Regions from separate parts of the Homo sapiens genome. Here regions 2, 3, 4, 5 and 6 are each linked to region 1. Evidence: promoter capture Hi-C in 16 types of primary human blood cells and fetal thymus (Javierre and others, 2016). All regions are on one chromosome and are shown on one strand. The core of a region is centred on a gene start or on the middle of the fragment in contact, and the rest is flanking DNA. Distances in the headings are between cores, read along the strand shown. Region 1 holds the start of SEPTIN3 (septin 3). Region 2 has its middle 27 kb from the start of NFAM1. Region 3 overlaps LINC01315 (long intergenic non-protein coding RNA 1315). Region 4 overlaps XRCC6 (X-ray repair cross complementing 6). Region 5 has its middle 5.0 kb from the start of TCF20. Region 6 has its middle 5.2 kb from the start of MEI1.

Evidence for each region. Contacts are between HindIII fragments. The CHiCAGO score rates a contact against its expected background, and 5 or more counts as called.
Region 2: a fragment that was not itself captured here is called in contact with the fragment with the promoter of SEPTIN3 in region 1 in 14 of 17 cell types (M0 macrophages, total CD4 T cells, endothelial precursors and 11 more); the score reaches 10.4 in M0 macrophages.
Region 3: a contact is called between a fragment that was not itself captured here and the fragment with the promoter of SEPTIN3 in region 1, in 1 of 17 cell types (M2 macrophages). The highest score is 5.6, in M2 macrophages.
Region 4: a fragment that was not itself captured here is called in contact with the fragment with the promoter of SEPTIN3 in region 1 in 1 of 17 cell types (naive B cells); the score reaches 5.5 in naive B cells.
Region 5: a contact is called between a fragment that was not itself captured here and the fragment with the promoter of SEPTIN3 in region 1, in 1 of 17 cell types (M1 macrophages). The highest score is 5.4, in M1 macrophages.
Region 6: a contact is called between a fragment that was not itself captured here and the fragment with the promoter of SEPTIN3 in region 1, in 3 of 17 cell types (total CD8 T cells, naive B cells and naive CD8 T cells). The highest score is 6.0, in total CD8 T cells.

What each region holds. Positions count from the first base shown.
Region 1 is chr22:41,968,007-41,970,975 of GRCh38, reverse strand. It overlaps SEPTIN3 (septin 3), which reads right to left and starts at 1,533. Exons shown (of 12, transcript NM_001363845.2): 1 at 1,299-1,533. The HindIII fragment of the contact is 14,934 bases long and covers 1-2,969 here.
Region 2 is chr22:42,458,290-42,461,258 of GRCh38, reverse strand. No RefSeq gene overlaps it. Among named protein-coding and RNA genes, the nearest start is that of NFAM1, 27 kb to the right of the region's middle. RefSeq lists an enhancer at 2,953-2,969. The HindIII fragment of the contact is 4,963 bases long and covers 1-2,969 here.
Region 3 is chr22:42,362,892-42,365,860 of GRCh38, reverse strand. It overlaps LINC01315 (long intergenic non-protein coding RNA 1315), which reads left to right. Exons shown (of 2, transcript NR_120597.1): 2 at 1,136-1,461. Among named protein-coding and RNA genes, the nearest start is that of LINC01315, 4.8 kb to the left of the region's middle. RefSeq lists enhancers at 1-560, 2,071-2,724. The HindIII fragment of the contact is 271 bases long and covers 1,459-1,729 here.
Region 4 is chr22:41,660,985-41,663,953 of GRCh38, reverse strand. XRCC6 (X-ray repair cross complementing 6) reads right to left here. Exons shown (of 13, transcript NM_001469.5): 12 at 2,510-2,623; 13 at 1-332. The coding sequence ends at 139. Among named protein-coding and RNA genes, the nearest start is that of SNU13, 26 kb to the left of the region's middle. The HindIII fragment of the contact is 4,603 bases long and covers 1-2,969 here.
Region 5 is chr22:42,274,120-42,277,088 of GRCh38, reverse strand. It overlaps a transcript of TCF20 not described here and the pseudogene OGFRP1. Among named protein-coding and RNA genes, the nearest start is that of TCF20, 5.0 kb to the right of the region's middle. RefSeq lists enhancers at 630-1,426, 1,427-2,223. The HindIII fragment of the contact is 1,106 bases long and covers 886-1,991 here.
Region 6 is chr22:41,692,820-41,695,788 of GRCh38, reverse strand. It overlaps the pseudogene C22orf46P. Among named protein-coding and RNA genes, the nearest start is that of MEI1, 5.2 kb to the left of the region's middle. The HindIII fragment of the contact is 7,463 bases long and covers 1-2,969 here.

The DNA of each region.
Region 1 (2,969 bases), core at 284-2,783:
GGATGAGAGAGGACCAATTTGGCTTAGAGCCCCAGAACCAAGAAAGAGCCCTGAGCTGGCCTAGTGCTGGAGTCAGAAACAGAGCCAGCCCTGGAGAAGGTGAGGATGGGAAATGGAGAGGCAGTGAGTGTTCACAGAAGGAGCTTATCTGGTGAACAAGCCATGGTCCCCGCCCTTGAAGAGGCTGCCATGCCCAGGGATGCCAGGCAAGGAAGTAGGCAGGGCTCCACCAAGCTAAGCATTAGGGGTAGAAAGGCGGGAGGCTAGACCTGAGCTGGGGCTGTTCCTACAGAAGGCCCAAAGGTGAGAAAGTGTGGCATCTTTCTGAAAATCCAACATGGGGCTCCTAGGCTGTATGTAGCAGGGAGGGGAGAGCCAAGGCTGCAGGTGAGCTGGGGTCCAGGCCAGGCTACAGCAAAGTTTAGGCCAGGGAATGTGACCCATTCCGATCTGTAGGTGGGAACGGCCACTCGGGCAGTGTGACAGAGGGATCAGATGGGAACAGAATTGAAGCCAGGATCCCATGAGGACATAGTTGAAACTCTCTGCTCCGTGGGCTGTGCAAGGGGCAGAGCTAGGGCTGGGGCTGGAGGAGGCTGCATTGCACAGGGGTAGAAGTGGCGGGACTGCCCAGGGTAGGGAGTGGGCACAAAGAGGTGTCGAGGATGAAGCTCAGGACTCTGGCTGTGGTCTTAGTAGATGGGCCACTCCCTGCTACTCTGGACTCCAAGTAACTCACCCTCTAGAAAAAAGTTGGTTTGGTTGCTTTTAACACAGCAGGCTGGGACCTGCAGCTGGGGGACAAGGCCAGGGCTGGTGGGAGGAGTCAGTTCCAGAGGGCTCATGGGGAGGGGAGTGATCATGTAGCCAGGTCCTTGAGGTCTGCAGCAGGGACGGGGAAGGCAGGGCACCGGACAGGGAAGGCATCACCCCTCACAATGGTGCCCCCAGCCCCTCATCCCTCTCCAGCCATATATTTGTATCCAAGACTGTCCTGGCCTCCAACCCTTTCCCACCTGGCCTATCACTGCAGCCCTGAACTTCTGCCCCCTCCTGCACAGCCACATCCACTTGGGCACACACGTTTACCCTGCACTTAGCCACAAACAGCTCCCCTCAGTGTGCACACCCACACACAGAGCAGGCCAGAGGACAGGGTGTCCGAGGGCATCACCCGACTCCCCATCCCCTCACTGCACTCCCATCTTCCATGGATTGCTTGGTCCTTCCCCACCCCACCCCCACCACCCTCCCACCCCCACAAACCCCCACACCCTTCCACCCCCCTACACACCTACCTTGATCAGAGGACAAGAAGGATCCAGTGTGTCTGGGAAGATAAGGCACACGCAGGCCCCTCACCTCCCCTGCACTCAGAGTCTGGCCATGGTGGCCAGCTTAGGGGCCTTGTCCCTCTGGTCCCCTCCTCAGCTCCTGCTCAGCCTCCAGGCCACAGTCCCCAGGCACAGGGCCCAGCCCTCTGCTCACTGTCCCACCAGCTACATCCCCGGAGACCGTGCTGGGCTGGGCTCTGGTGCAGGGAGGGGCTGGCTTCCTAGGAGTGGGCGGCTGTGAATGGCTGCTCTGAGCCTCTGGAATCCTGAAGAGCCATGGGAGGCTGGTAACGGCCAGGCTGGCACTCACGGCCACCTGCAGGGAGGTTCCCTGCAGCCTGCCCTCCCCAAATCTGCTCTGTCTCCCACAGACTTTGATGCCTGGGGAGTCTGCAGTAAAAACAGGGGTACTCCAAATATGGCTGCACTCTGGTAGTCCCAGCGCGAGTCTCCCTCTGGCTCTGCCTCTGTGCCCTTCATGCCCTGTTCAGCTCTGCAACCCTCAGACCATCTTGCCCACTCACCTGGTCTTTCCTCAAGGGGGCTGGAGTTCCTGGAGGCTAGAGCTCCTTCCACAACTATTCCCTGAGCCCCAGCTTGCTCCAGCTGGACCCTGTACCCAGACCCTAAGGGTGTGAAGAGGACCCCGCCCTAGGCCTGCCCCTGAGGGGACCACAAAGCCACCCAGCCTGGCTCTGGCAATGCCGACTCTCAGCAGCCCCTGGCCCTGGGGCTGGGATGGGAGCCCTCTTCTGTGTTCCCACAGCCCTCGGCTGCCTCTGTCATAGCAGTGGTGATAATAACAATGGTGCTGATAACAGCTACTATTTCCTGAGCACTTGCTCTGTGCCCGGCACCATGCCAGGGCTGGGCGGAGCTCACAGTCTGCTAGGAAGATAGGTATGTAAACAGATCCTATAGTACTGTCCTGTACGGTGATGGCAGATGTCCTCCGAGCACTCACCCTGAGTCAGGAACTAGGCTAAGCATTCTCCTGGCATCTCCTTTAATCTCCGCCTCATCACCTGCTTTTTACCGAGGAGGACATTGCAGCCCACACAACACTGTGTTGTCTGGTCTGCTCTCCTGTGTGTCTCTCTCTTTAGCGAGTGAGCTTCTGGAGCTGCGCTGGGCAATACAACTTTCAGTGATAATGGAAATGTTCTATGTCTGTGCTGTCCAGTACAGTAGCCACTAGCCACAGATGGCTACCGATCACTTAAAATGTGTCTACAGTGACCAAGGAACTGGATTTTTTAGTTTATTTTAATCTGTGGCTACCATATTAGCTCAGCTCTGTTTCGTTTGTTGTTGCTGTTGTTGTTATTAGTTTTTTTGAACAGGGTTTCACTCTGTCGCCCAGGCTGGAAGACAGTGGCGCCATCATGGCTCACTGCAGCCTCTTGGGCACAAGTGATCCTCCCACTTCTGCCTCCAGAGTAGCTGGGACCACAGGCATGCACCACCACGCCCAGCTAAGTTTTTATTTTTTGTAGAGACGGGGGTCTCCCTATGTAGCTCAGGCTGGTCTCGAACTTCTGAGCTCAAGCAATACTCCTACCTCCACCTCCCAAAGTGCTGGGATTACGGTCGTGAGCCACCATGCCTGGGTGGAAAGCTCAGTTATGAAGGTCC
Region 2 (2,969 bases), core at 136-2,635, 490 kb before region 1:
GCTGCCAAACCGATGAGAGACATAATTTGGGCAGGCCATGACCCTGTCAAAAACCCTCCTCAGAAGGGCTTTTCTGTGGGATGTCCTAAAGTTAGTTATGGTGACACAACTCTGTCAATATACTAAAACCCATTGACTTGCATACTTTAAGCAGGTGCATTTTACAGTATGTAAATTCAACCTCAATAAAGCTGTTTGTTGGTTTTGAGACGGAGTCTCACTCTGTCAACCAGGCTGGAGTGCAGTGGCGCAATCTCTGCTCACTGCAACCTCCGCCTCCCGGGTTCAAGCAGTTCTTGTGCTTTGGCCTCCCAAGTAGCTGGGATTACAGGTGTGCGCCACCACACCCAGCTAATGTTTGTATTTTTAGTAGAGCTGAGGTTTCATCATGGCCAGCCTGGTCTCGAACTCCTGATCTCAGGTGATCTTTCCACCTCGGCCTCCCAAACTGCTGGGATTACAGGGGTGAGCCACCACGCTTGGTCTGTTTGTTTGCTGTTTAAGTGTATGAGAATTATAGGGAGAAAACCTGCAAGGCACCCAAGCCCTGCTGGAGCTGGTCCTCCACGTGACCTTAATCTCTAGCCATAGCAAACTTCTTACTGCTCCTCTCAGGCACCACCATGCTCCACGGCGCCCATGACCTTCCACAAGCTGTCTCTTCTACCTGGGATGTTACTGCCGCCACCATCTCCCAGCCAACTCCTAGTTATCGTACAAAGCCTAGCTCTAACTTCGCTTTCTCCAGGAAGTTTCTGTGACCCTCGGTGAGTCTCGCAGTATCCTGGTTTACCTTTGCCACTGCTCCCATCACATCAAACTGACACTTTGTCCCATAGGACTGTCAAAGGGTCTTAGTCACCTCCGCATCTCTAGGACCTGTCTTGGTGCCTGGTACCTCCAAGATGTCAATGTTTGCTCAACTGGCCCCAGCTGATCTCGTGGGTCTCCTTATTGAATATTGAGCCCGCTACAGAAAGCAGGTGCTGCATCCGAGGAGCATTTAGGCGGCGCCAGCTCACCTCAAGCTACAGAAACATGTGGTCCTAATTCCTTCCTCGCTCTCCTCTTTAGCTTTTTCTTAACCTCTGATTTCAGTTACCAATTAGCAATTTAGCAAGAAACACCTTCTTTGTCTTTCCGAAATGTGTCTCTACTAAGGTACCTTTTCCTTGGGGTAAAAAAAAAAAATAGGGGACGGGATATACTAAGTGAATGGGGGAGGGGAGCCAATTAACATTCAGCTAAGAAAGAAAATGATTTCTCCTATCAGTAGTAAAAACTGACAGCTCTATCAGAAAACGAGCCCGGGGAGCCACAAAGCCTGGCAAGGCAGGGTGGGGAGGGAGGCGTCTGCAGCCCTAATCAGGAGTGATAAAGATGGCTGAGGGCAGAGTCCGCTGCTGGGAGCCAGGGAATCCAAAGGATTCAGGCGTCCAAAGGAATCACCTCGGGAGGTGGAACAGTTGCCTTCCACCTCCTCCCTCCTGTCTGATCTGGCCCCAGGCAAGAGGACTGGTACTATTCAGGTTTTATACCTGAAACTTACAGCTCCGACTCTCCAAACGGCCTCTCTCTATGCACTCCTTTCCTCTGACCTTATCATAAAAGGCGGCCACGTGCTGTCTATTCATGGTAGCAGGATGGTCTGGGGAGAGGAGGCTCCATGCGCGAATTCCAGGGTTGATGAAATTGCTCCGGCCCTCTGGATCTCTCCCCGCCATGAATGAATAAACGGGTTTGGGGGCAGGGTGGTGAAATCAAACTCCAGTGTTATCTGACATACAAGTTCTTTCTTGAGTGCCACATAGGTAATTTGTTATAAATCAGAGCTTAAACACCAGATCGGATTTCACAGAACTCAATTCCATCGCTTTAAGATGAGAAGACGTGCAGAGAAGGATGGGAGAAACACCCCCATTCGGCCTGGCAGAAAAGATATTTAGCGTTTTAAAATGTAACCATTGATCTTCTGCTTGAAATACAAATGCATTTTGCTAAAAAAGAAGACGTCAGTGAGATTGAGACAGGAAGTGATGGAGAGAAACCAAAGGCTCGAGCAGGTTGTTTAATTGGAAACAGCGAGAGGCTGTTTTCGGTCACATTTTGTGTACAGTTCCAGGCCACGCTCCCTCTCTCATATACGATCATGAAACATAAAGACACGGGAACAAGTTCAGTGCCTGAGAGCATCGACGCCTCCCTTGAGGTGTGTGTGTGCCCATCACCAGGATGTAGGGAAAAGGAATAGTCTCAGCCTGTGTACAGACTGGGATTTCTGCAGACGCTAGTCTTCAGCAGACACCAATGGGGGAATGCAGAGAGGTCCAGGCCCCGCATCTTCAGAGACTATAGCTCCGGGGCTGTGGTTTTCTGAATCACTCCCAAATGCTTTTGAACTGGGTTTTTTTTTTTTTTTTTTAATTAGGTTTCTTGTCTAAAATGCTCTACATTTTTAGTGTTCTTAGTACAGGAGGTATAACAAGGCAGTTAAGCATTTAATACTCAAGAATTGGGCTGGGCGCAGAGGCTCCAACCTGTCATCCCAGCACTTTGGGAGGCCAAGGCAGGTGGATCACCTGAGGTCAGGAGTTCGAGACCAGCCTGGCCAACATGGCGAACCTCTGTCTCTACTAAAAATACAAAAATTAGCTGGGCGTGGTGATGGGCACCTGTAATACCAGCTACTCTGGACGCTGAGGCAGGAGAATTGCTTGAACCTGGCCAGCAGAGGTTGCAGTGAGCCAAGATTGCATCACTGCACTCCAGCTTGGGCAACAGAGCGAGACTCCATCTCAATTAAAAAGAGAAGAAGAAGAAGAATGTGTCTTTCGAGATACACTGATGATTTTTGAGGTTAACAGCAAGGAAACGCTAGCTGTTGTAATAAATAAATCCCCTAATATAAATCCCCAAATATTAACGTCTTAACCCAAAAGACATGTGTTTCTCACTCACATGACTGACCA
Region 3 (2,969 bases), core at 345-2,844, 390 kb before region 1:
GGGCACAAATACCCCACCCTCAGCCCCTTCCGCACACCCACTTCCTCCTGCCCTCTCCCCACCAGAGACGATACTGTCCCCCTCAACCACTTCTTTCTTGTTATCTGAGCACTGGGTTTTAATTGGCGATGGCCCCTCCCCAGCTGCCTCTCCTCCCGGCTCCCTGTGAAGTCTCAGGCTTGCAGCCCTGAGGGGCCTGCAGTTCCTGGCTCATTGTCAGGGGCAATTAGCTGTGATGTCACAAGCCTAGGTGGTGACTTCCGTGGGGCAGATGCTTAGCCAGGCACCAGGAGGCCAGGACCCTGCTCCATCTGTGACCTGCGGGGCTCCCCCAGGCTCCAGGGGTCCCCATTACCAGTCGCAGGGAGGCAGGGCTCCTAGGCAAAGCCATTTCCATTTCTGCACTTGATGGCTCCTTGAAGCCCAGCCTGCGTGTAAATGAGTTCCACCCTGTGCTTTTGTTGGCAACTGTCGGCTCCCTGGAAGCAAGGGGCTTTGTCAGGAAGAACAAAGCTGTGCGGTGTTTTTCTGATTTGGGGGAAAGCGTGCTCCTGGGGGAGGGCTCAGCGCTTCTCAGTGTCGGTCTCCAGCCCTGGTTCTCAGACTTGCTGGTTTTGTTTTGGGTTCTTAAGTCCTATGGCTTAAGAGTCACATATGTTTGTGTGTGTGTTGGCTGAGGGTTTTTTTTTTTTTTTCCTCCTTTTTGGCTTACATAGCGTTCCAGAGACTGAACTTCTCAAATCACTGCTTCAACAGCTTTTAAAAATCTGGACCTAGTTACTCCTGTCATCTATGTGTAAAGATTTAGAAAAAAAATCCCAAACCCAAGGGTGGGCAGCCGCGAGGATGTACAGCTCCTGGCAGTGTGCGCTCACCCGGAGACCTGAGGTCAAAGCCCAAATGCTGAGCACCTCCTGGGAGGCGGGAGCATGGTCTGCTCAGTGCCAGACATCTGGATATTGAGAAAACATCTGGGTAGCTGGGGTTTTCAGGTTTCTGCCTGACATTTAATATCACAAACATTGAGCCTGCTCCTGTCCCCCACCAGCCACGCGGCTTCTCCTCCCAAACATACCCAGCTCCTTCCCCTGCCTTCCTGACGGGTAAGAAACATCCATTCTTTCCAATTCCCCAGCGTTTTCCCCCTACCGGAAATCTGATGGGCTTATGACATCATGGCTGGCTGCTGAGCGATGAAGTGGATGCCACAAAGAAATCCGACATATCAGATAGATTCTGAAATCGGTTTCCCTCCAGCTGTAGTAACAGGCGTGAAGTCAGGAGAATTTGAGCTTTGTTTAAAAAATAAATAAATAAATAAATAAACCATAACAAAGTCTTGCCCTGTATTAAATGCAATTTTCTTAAAAACAAGCAAACCTTTTGGACATCATTTTATTTTAATAGAAATGCTGAGTTTTATGAAACTAAAGTGGCTAATAAATCAGACCTGAAGCTTTGTGTGAGTGTTCCATTTCTGTTGAGTGTTTGTGTCCTTATTCACTAATAAAAGAGGAGCTAGGAATGGTTTATCTCTCTTCATTATTCAAATGAGATAGCCTTTTTTTTTTTTTTAGGCCAATAAAATTCACAGGGTAAATTGCTGGTTTATGTTTTTCCAGGAATCCATTTTTATGGAGCGACCCTGGACCTCACCGGTCTGCAGACACTATATTCCCCTTTGCTGGTTTTCCTGGCTGTGAAGCCCTTAAGAGAATGCAGTAAAGCTTTTCAGTCTCCTGGCTGGGCTCAGGGGATAACTGGCTGTCAGCAGGGCGGGACCAAGACCAGTGGGCCAGGCGCTTCTTGGAATGAGAAGCCTCTTTGAAAGGAGAGAGTCAAGAGAGGAACAGAAGTAAAGGGACCTGGGGCTGGGCGCGGTGGCTCATGCCTATAGTCCCAGCAATTTGGGAGGCCAAGAGGGCAGATCACCTGAGGTCAGGAGTTCAAGACCAGCCTGGCCAACATGGCGAAACCCCATCTCTACTAAAAATACAAAAAATTAGCCAGGAGTGGTGGTGCACGCCTGTAACCCCAGCTACTTGGGAGGCTGAGATAGGAGAACTGCTTGAACACGGGAGGCAGAGGTTCCAGTGAGCCGAGATCGCGCCACTGCACTCCAGCCTGGGTGACAGAGCAAGACTCCATCTCAAAAAAAAAAAAAAAAAGAAGAAGAAGAAGAAGAAAAAGTAAAGGGACCTGGGACATGAAGCCTAGGGGCCTGGGAGGGGGAATCCATTTTCTTCCTCCTCAAAAGACAGCAAGGACCTCAGAAATAACTCCAGGCTGAGGGGGCCTCAGTATTCACCTCGGAAATAGGCTTGGGTGCAAGATTGCATGTGTCGTGCCTGCCAAGCACCCAGCACAGGGACGTCCCAGACCTGGGCTGAGGTCCCAGCTGCTCCAGAAGCAAACTTCGGGGCCCTGAGCAAGTCACACCACCTTTCAGCTTCTTTCCCTGAAAGTGGACACAATGGCCCCCACCCTGCCTGTTGGGAGAACAGTAGTGCTGGATGTGTCACACAATGCCCAGCTCTGAGGGCATCCGAGGCTCTGAGGGCACCTCAAAGGGCTCCGAGGCCATTCTCATAGCTGGGAGAGGCCAGTGTGGATTCTGGAGTTGAATCCCCAGCCTGGGCTTGACTCCTGGCTCTGTCCCCTGCTATCTGCAAGACGACATTGATCTGTGTGACATTCGCTGTGCCTTGGTGTCCTCACTTGTCAAACAATAATAATAATAGGACCGGCCTCACACATGAGGCTGCTGTGAGGATGAACGGCCTCAGAAGGCCTGGACTGACCAAGCATTAGCCGCATGAGTGTGTCCTGGGCCCAGGAGGCAGGTTGCTGGCTAGGACCCTCCGGCCTAGGATGGGAGGGAGTGTACCAAGTCGAGCACAGGCGGAGGCTAATCAAGGACTGACAGGAACATCTACTCCTTTCTCTGCAGAACTTCCCATGACTCCAAT
Region 4 (2,969 bases), core at 185-2,684, 310 kb after region 1:
GCCTCAAAAACATAAAGTCCCTCGACTTATGTCGGGTAGACTCTTCCTAGCTCAGGAGAAACACATTTTAACTGGCTGAGGACAAGGCCAGGCAGCCTGGCCACACTGCGGAAGGGCAGCTGGACGCGCGGCCTCTGGTCAGTCCTGGAAGTGCTTGGTGAGGGCTTCCAGCAGCTCCTGCTTCTTCAGCCCACTCTTCAGCCCGTAAGCCCGGCAGGCCTCTTTCAGCATGGGCACAGTGAACTTGCCCAGCGTACCCTTGCTGATGTGGGTCTTCAGCTCCTCTTCTGAATACTCCACCTTGGGCCTTTTGCTTCCAGAACCTTCATTATCTGGGGGGAAAGGTCAGGAGAGAGTGACTGGAAATGCTACATACAAGTGGCATCCCAGCTACATGGCATGGGGGACCTCGTATAATCTGGGCTGCAATTAACCATAAAGCTGTGATGCCAGCCTAGGACACCATGGGGAAGACTTATCTCGATAAGGTAGCTTCATTTAAAGTGCAAAATAAAACACAGATCACACCTAGGAGGAAATTACAAGTAGTGTGAATGCCATCAGTTTACCCAAAACTGTTGCTCACTCTGGGTAAGTCATTCCTTCCTTCCTTTGAAAATCTTTTACAGGTTCATGACCAGCCTTGGTAATACAGTGAGACCCTGGCTCTAAAGTAATAAAATCAACCGGCCATGGTGGTGTGCACCTGCAGTCTCAGCTACTCAGCAGGCTGAGGCTGCAGGATCACTCGAGCCCAGGAGGTTGAGGCTACAGTGAGCCAGTGAACTGTGATTGAGCCACTGGACTCCAGCCTGGGTGACAGAGCAAGACTGTCTAAAAACAAAAAAAGGATATAACTTCTGTATCATTTTTGAGATGGAGTCTCACTCTATCACCGAGGCTGGAGTGCAATGGTGTGGTCTCGGCTCACTGCAACCTCTGCCTCCCGGGTTCAAGGGATTCTCCTACCTCAGTCTCCCAGGTAGTTGGGACTACAGGCGCCCACTACCACATCTGGCTAATTTTTGTATTTTTAGTACAGACGAGGTTTCACTGTGTTGGCCAGGCTGGTCTTGAACTCCTGACCTCATGATCCGCCCACCTCAGGCTCCCAAAGTGCTGGGATTACAGGTGTGAGCCACCGCACCTGGCCAACTTCTGTATCATTTTAAATAGAAATTAAAAAAATTAAGTCCTGGAAGGGTGAGAGTGCAGGAAAACATTCACTCCTTCTTGGATAGAGGGTAAATCACTGTTTTGGAAGCAATTCACTGCAAGAATGCATCCTGTGGATCTATTCACACAAGAACACGATGGAAATGCATGTTCACTGCAGCATATCCACCTGTCAATACAGGTCTGGTTAAATAACCTGGTATATCTATCCAATGAACTACTCTGCAGCCTCATTTTTTAAAAAATGAGATAGGTAAGTGTGGATATAAATAACTGTCCAACATATATAGCTGAGTAACAAAAATAGCAAACTAGAAAACAATGTATTATTCCATTTGTGCTGAAATATGTATGTTGGTATGTGTAAATATGTATGGTTGTATAGACAGTTCTTTTCTAAAATTTTTTCATTTTTAATTTTTGTGGGTACATACTAGGTATATATATTTGTGGGGTACCTGAGGTATTTTGATACAGGCATGCAATGTGAAATAATCACATCAGCATAAATGGGGTATCCATCCCCTCAAGCATTTATCTTTTGTGTTACAAACATTCCAATTGTATTCCTTTAGTTATTTTTAAATGTACAATTAAATTAGACTATAGTCACTCTGTTGTATTATCGAATAGATCTTAATCATTCTATTTTTTTTTTGTACCCATTAACCATCCCCACCAACCCCACAATGCCTCACTACCCTTCTCAGCCTCTGGTAACCATCCTTCTATGCTCTCTCTCCATGAGTTCAATTGTTTTGATTTTTAGATTCCACAAATAAGTGAGAACATGTAAATGTCTGTCTTTCTGAGCCTGGCTTACTTCACTTAACATATTATTGCAAATGACAGGATCTCATTCTTTTTTATGGCCGAATAGTACTCCATTGTGTACGTGTACCACATTTTCTTTACCAGGCATCTGTTGATGGACACAAGTTGCTTCCAGATCTTGGCTATTGTGAATGGTGCTGCAATAAACATGGGAGTGCACATATCTCTTTGATATATTGATCTCCTTTCTTTTGGGTATATACTGACTGGATCATATGGTATGCTGGATCATATGGTAGCTCTAGTTTTCACTTTTTGAGGAAACTCCCAACTATTCTCCATAATAGTGGCTGTACTAATTTACATTCCCACCAACAGTGTATGAGGGTTCCCTTTTCTCCACATCTTTGCCAGCATTTGTTATTGTCTGTTTTTTGGATAAAAGCCATTTTAACTAGACTGTGAATAGATATTTCTGAAAGGATATTGCCCACTGTGATAAGACTATCATAAAAGCAATTTTTAAAAATAGCCCACATGTCCACATTCAGCTTCTCACCGTGTTTTCTCTTGGTAACTTTCCCTTCAGGATTGTAATCTGGTGGGTAAACAAGCTCCTTAAACTCATCCACCAAGGAGCCCAGTCTTTTATTCATTGCTTCAACCTTGGGCACTAGAAAATCAAAACACAGAAGAGTGGCCTGGTGAGTCACGAGCCCCAGCTTGCTGTCCACTTCCAGAACTCTCTGAGAACCAGAAGAGAGAGCACCTAACTGCTAAGGTGGGAGGGGTCTAGGGAAATGTCTTTCCAGCATTTACCAAGTACCTTCCAACACCTGCATTTACTGTAATTACACATACTACCGCCAGGCACTGTTGTAAATGCTTTAAACTTACTCTATTTACTCCTTCTAACAACCTATAGGATAGGTAAATTTGTCCCCAGTTTTTTTTTTTTTAGATTTTTTTTTGAGATGGAGTCTTGCTCTGTTGCCAGGCTGGAGTGCAGTGGCGCGATC
Region 5 (2,969 bases), core at 189-2,688, 310 kb before region 1:
GAGACCTGGGAGAGAAGGTTTGGAGAAGCAAGCGGAGCCAGATAGAGCATTGTATTCCAGGCTGATAGGAATAAACTTGAATGGTGAAGCCGCTCAGGACCCACTGACAGACTTCTGAGCCAGGGGGAGCAAAGTTAAAACCGGCTTTGGATAACTGTAATGAATCCGCCACAGGGATGGGTGGGCAGGGAAAAGTGGCTCCAGTCGAGGACCAGTTAAGAGTTGGAGAATTCACGGCTCCTGCTGCTTTCTGCTCCCCTGGAATCAAACGTGATTTTGCAATTATCCCCGAGAGCTCGCAGGGAGATGCAGGGCAGTGATGAGGAACCTCACACGGCGTGGCTGCTTCCAGAAGACAATCGCCTTGGCATCAGGGCAGCTATCCCCGAGTCACTAGAGGGAGAGACGGAGTTGATTAAGCATCGGCATCTGCGTTTCTTGGCTTCTCCTATTGAGAAGGCAGCATCCAGCTCTGCATCCCTGCACCTGTGTCCTGGTGCCTTCTATTAATAAGTGGCCCAGGAATCTTGACGCTGAAGGACCAACCTGTGGCAGAAGATGAGCAGAAACATTTCTGTCAAATGCCCAGCAAACAAGACTCCACGCCTCCGTGGGGAGCCAGCACATAAGAGTCAGGACTCTTGAGGACCTGAGGACAAATCCCAGCACCACCACTTAGCAGCTGTGCACCTTCGAGCATCTTCTAAGTGACTCTGGGCCTCCATTTCTTCACTTGTGAAAATGGAGGCTGCCCTGGTGTTGTGAAGGTTAAGGTTAAGTGACATATATGGATCCCCAAGCACAGGGAACACTGGAGGCTCAGGAAGTAGTGGCCGTTATCATGGCTGCGTTTTTCTCCATGGTTTGAATTCTTAGCAGGAAGCTTCGGTTTCAGGCTTAAAAATGAAGAGCATGTCAACAAAACAGGATGGAACAAAGTCTTTTCCCAGCATGCCTCAGCATGTGGCACTGCCTTCCCGTGGAGCCCAGACAATGATGTGGCTAAAAGTCTTGAGCTTTCAGGCAGAAATAATCCCAAAGGAAAGGAACTTCCTTATTGTCATCTTATAACAAAGCAACGCAGGGGCCCTGTAGCCTGTCAGATTCAGCTCTGCCCCCTCCGAGCTGCTCTGTGCCTCAGTTTCCTCATCTGCAAAATGAGGCGAGAACAGTACCCACTTTATAGGGTTGTTGTAAGGATTAAGCAAGTTACTGCAGGAAAAGCGCTTAGAGCATGCCTTTGTCACTGCGACTCTTAGATCATTTCATATTCAGGTTAACTCTTTGTAGTGCCCTGAGTGACTCTGTGGGGGCTTTGGAGCCAGAAGACTGAGTTCAAATCACAGCCTCTTCCTAGCTGTGTGACCTGGGCAAGTCTCTTAACCTCTGTGTGCACCCATTTCCTGCTCTGTACAATGAAGATGACAATCCCTGCCTCATGGGTTTGTTGTGAGGAGTGAATGGGATCACTCAGGTAAGGGCGCCGACTCCCCTGAGGCAGGCAGCTCACCTGGCCCCTCCCAGCCCAATTTACAGCTGAAGAAATTGGATGATTTAAAGACACACACTGGTGAGACCAGGCTGGCGCCAGCTCAGTGACTGGCCCGATGAGAGTCCAGCCACTGGGGACAGTGAGTGCCGGGCAGGTGGGGGTGATCTGTGCGCTCAGGTTGCACGGGCTTCCCGTTTCTTGGCCTATCCTCAGGTGTTAGCTCTCTGCTCACCTGTGGGGAAGATGTGTAAGTCGATTCACAGCAGCTGCTGCTTGTTGGGCAGACCGTGGTCTTCCAGGCATGGGGTCCGAGAGTCTGAGGCCCCCCGACCTGCCCGAGCTGCCCAGTGTCCAGGGCTTAATATATGACTGCTGGAGGGGCTGGCGCTGCCCATGCCGTCCTCTTACATTCTTTCCCTATCGGCCTGCAGACTTTTGGTCCTACTGACTGTCTAGGTCCATCTCTGTCTTTCCAGTGTTTGCTGAGTGCTGGGAAGCTTGGTGGTTAAGAGTGCAGCCTCTGAAAACCTGGGTTCAAATACCAGCTCAGCCTCTTCCAAACTGTGTGACTTGGGATAAGTTAAACTCTTTGCACCTCAGTGGCCCCATCTGTAAAATAGGGGTGATAACAGTACCAAACTCATTAGACTGCTGCAAATAAGAAGAACTGGGATGATAAAGGGAAATCTGCATAGTGCCTGGTTCATAGTAAGCCTGGATTCCTCTGGGCTGTATCATCCTCATTAACATCATTTTAATGGACATGGTGCCCTACCCTGCACAGGATGCCGGAGACCCAAGAGAAGCAGAGGTGTCTCTGCCCTGCATATGCTCACAGTCCAGGGGGAGAGATGGATGCATCCCAGATTAGGATGCCACACTTCTATCCTGGAGGGCAGAGTGGAGGGGCAAACCTGGAGAGCAGAAGTTTCTGTGGGACCCTGTGAAACAAATCCATGCCAAACATGTCAATGCTCTAAGGCCCTGCAGGATCCCACCCTTGCCCAACTCCGCAGCTTCATCTTTTTCCCCTGCACTGGGCACAGTCCTCCTGGGCACAGCAGGTGGCTCTCCCCCACACCCCTAAGTCTTGGTATTCTCTGGTCCTCTGTTTTAAGGCCCTCCCCACCACCATAACTTTAGAGCCTCCCCTGACCTTGCCCCAGAAAGAACTGTTCTGAGCCCCCATGCTCCCTCCATGCGGGCTCAGAGACTTGCACAAAGCAGGGGCTCCTGTGGAATGAGGGCACAGAATGAGGGCGTGCCCACAGAGGCTCTCCACCCCTGCTGTTTGTGCACTCTCAGTATCCTTGTGCTTTGCAAGGGGACAGTGCGTGGCTTGGGGACAGGCACAGCAGGAGGCTGTGGGGAGTTTCCCGCTCTGTTAGCCAGAGGCTTTTGTAAGTTGCCTCCTGGCAGACTGCAGATGAAGCCCCGAGCTTGTGAGCAGGAATTCCAGGCCTCCCTCTTGGTGTGA
Region 6 (2,969 bases), core at 190-2,689, 280 kb after region 1:
CTCTGGTTTCTCTCCACTGGAGCCTGAATTTCTGTTCCATTCTCACTTCCCATCTGCTTCTGGCTCTTCCACTCTGATAAAAGGATCTTTCTACCAAGATCACTTCTAAACTGACTCTGGGTTTCTTTCCCAGGTGCCCAGGTCTTTACACCGTCCTCACCTCCAACTTCTCTCAGGTTTCTCTTCCCTTGTATCTGAATTTCTGCCCCATTCTCACCTCCAATCTGCTGATCTTTCTTCCATTCTGCTGAATGCATTTCTCCATCAATTTGACTTGTTAATTTGCCCCAGTTCCCTGACTCAGATATCTGGGTATGTGCACCATCTTCGCCTCTAATATGTTCCTGATTCTTCCCCTTTGGTATGTGAATCTTTCCACTAAATTCATTTCCTAACTGACCCTGATTTTTCCTCCCAAGTTCCTGGGTGTCTTTATCATCCTCACCTTTAACCTCTCTCCTCCCTAGTGACTGAATGTCTGTACCATCCTCTTCTCTAAGTGGCTCATTGCTCTGAGTCTCCACATCAGTTTCACCTTTTAATTGTTCCTGGATCTCAGCCTCGGGTGCCAGGATATTTGTGCCATCCTCACATCCATCCTTTCTTTGGTCTCTCTTCTCTGATGCCTGAATTTCTGCTCTATGTTCACCTCCAATCCAGTTCTGATTCTCCCAACATAGTATCTCAAATTCTCTATAAATTTCACTTGCTACTTGTCTCCGGTTTCCCCACCATAGTGCCTGGATCACCACCCAATCCTTCTCTTATCTCCCTGAGCTTCTTCTTGGTAGCTATCTGGGTTTCCTTAGCATCTTCATCTCTTCTCAGGCCCTTATTTCCCCACCCCACTTGAATTTCATGACTTAATTGTTTCTGGTTCTCTCCCCCAGATGCTTGGGTCTTCTTAGCTTTCTTACTTCCACCTTGATCATGCTTCTCCCACCTTGGTGTCTGGATCTCTGTAACATTCCCATTTCCAACACATTCCTGTTTTCCCCAATCCAAGGCCTGGGTCTCTACACTATTCTCTTTTTTTACTTCTCCCACGTTCTCCCTCCCACATGATTGGGTTTGTGCAGCATCCTGACCTCCAACCTGATCCTTGTTTCTCCCCTCTTCCATCTGAATTTCCACATCCGCATCACCTTTCATCTGATCTTGTTTCTCCCACTGTGGTGTCTGGGTCTCCTCACCATTCTCATCTCCAGTCTGGCCTTGCTTCCCCAATCCTTGAGCCTGGATCTCTTCCCCATCCTCCTCTCCAGCCTCTTTCTTGTCCTTCTTCTCAAATGTCTGGGTCTCCACAGCATCCTCACTTCCATTCTTATCCTGGTTCTCCCACTCAGGTGTTTGGGTCTCTGCATCAATTTTACATCTTAACTGTTCTTGGTTCTCTCCCATATGTGCCTGGGTTTCAGGGAGATTCTCACCTCCAGCCTCCCTCTGGTTTCTATTCCCTAGTTCCTGAATGTTGGTTCTACTCTCAACTCCCATCCGGTCCTGGGTGTCCCACCCTGGTGTCAAGATCTCGCCATCAGTTTCACTTATTACTAGTCTCTGGTTTGCACACTCCAACACGTTAGTCTCTGCATCACCCTCCATTCCAAAGTCTACTGGGAACTACTCCCCAGATGCCTGGATTTCTGAAGCATCCTCCCGTCTGCTCCCTGTCTGGTTCACCCACCTTGGAGCCTGGGTCTCTCTACTATCCTCTCTGCCTGCTTTCTGGTTTTTACCCCCTGGTTCCCAGGCCTCTGGTCGACAGTGCCAAGACTTCCAAGTGCACATTCTCAGTGTTTGGTGGGAAGGATCAGGCAGGAGCTCTCTGGGGGCAGAACTGCAGCCTCTCAGCTGAAAGTAAGTTTGGAAGAGAGGTGGTTAAGGTCATGGAGGTGGGGCGAGACCTCACACTGATGACAGGCTCCAGTGACACCAACCTTTCCTGTGAGTGAAGCAGCAGCTGCTCCATCTCTTGACACATGTCCAAGGCAGGGCGAGTCTGACCATCATGGAGACACCAAGGCACCTGCCATGCTTTCCAGGAACTGTTCTGAGGCAGTAAACAGGTGTTTGAAATGGAGGTGGTACAAAAGATGGGCTCAGAGTGGGTGTGGACACCCGAAGGTGGGCCTGGACATGGGTGCTGTGGAGAGAGCAGGTTCTGGGCCCATGATTCCTGGAGGCTCCTCCGGTATCCCCATCTCTGCCTTTGTGCGCATTGTTGAGAATCTAGGCCCCTGGACTTTCCAGGACTGAAGAATTCAGGAGTCAGCTTGAAGACAGTTTCGCACCTCATGGAGGGCACTGCCCGCTTCTGCAGTGGCACCTGTAGATGAGAACAGAGAAGCAAAATCCTTGCACACATAATAACTTGCATAATCCGCACAGACAGAATAGTCAGGAAAGGCTTCTTGGAGGAAGTGACATTTGACTGGAGCCTGAATGAAGTAAGGGGCAAACCAAGTGACATCTGAGGAAAGAGCGTTGTAGGCAGAAGAGACATTAAGTACAAAGGCTTGAGGATGGAACAAAATTACATGTACAGGAACAGCAAAGAAGACTGTGTGGCCAGAATGGAACCAGTAATGAGGAGAGCACTGGGAGATAAGATCGGAGACAAACATGGGACAGATTATGCTGGTCCTTAGAGTCGTGATTAGGAGCGAGAATTTTATTCTGAGTTTGCCAGATAATGTAAGTATAGGAGCCATTGCAGGGTTTTGAGCAGCTAAGTGCTATGTTCTGTTTCTAAAAGTTTGTTCTGATGGCAGGGCATGGTGGCTCATGTCTGTAATCCCAGCACTTTGGGAGGCCAAGATGGGTGGATCACTTGAGGTCAGGAGTTCCAGACCAGCCTGGCCAACATGGCAAAACCCCTTCTCTACTAAAAATACAAAAATTAGCCAGCCATCATGGCGCATGCCTGTAATCCCAGCTACTCAGGAGGCTGAGGCACAAGAATTGCTTGA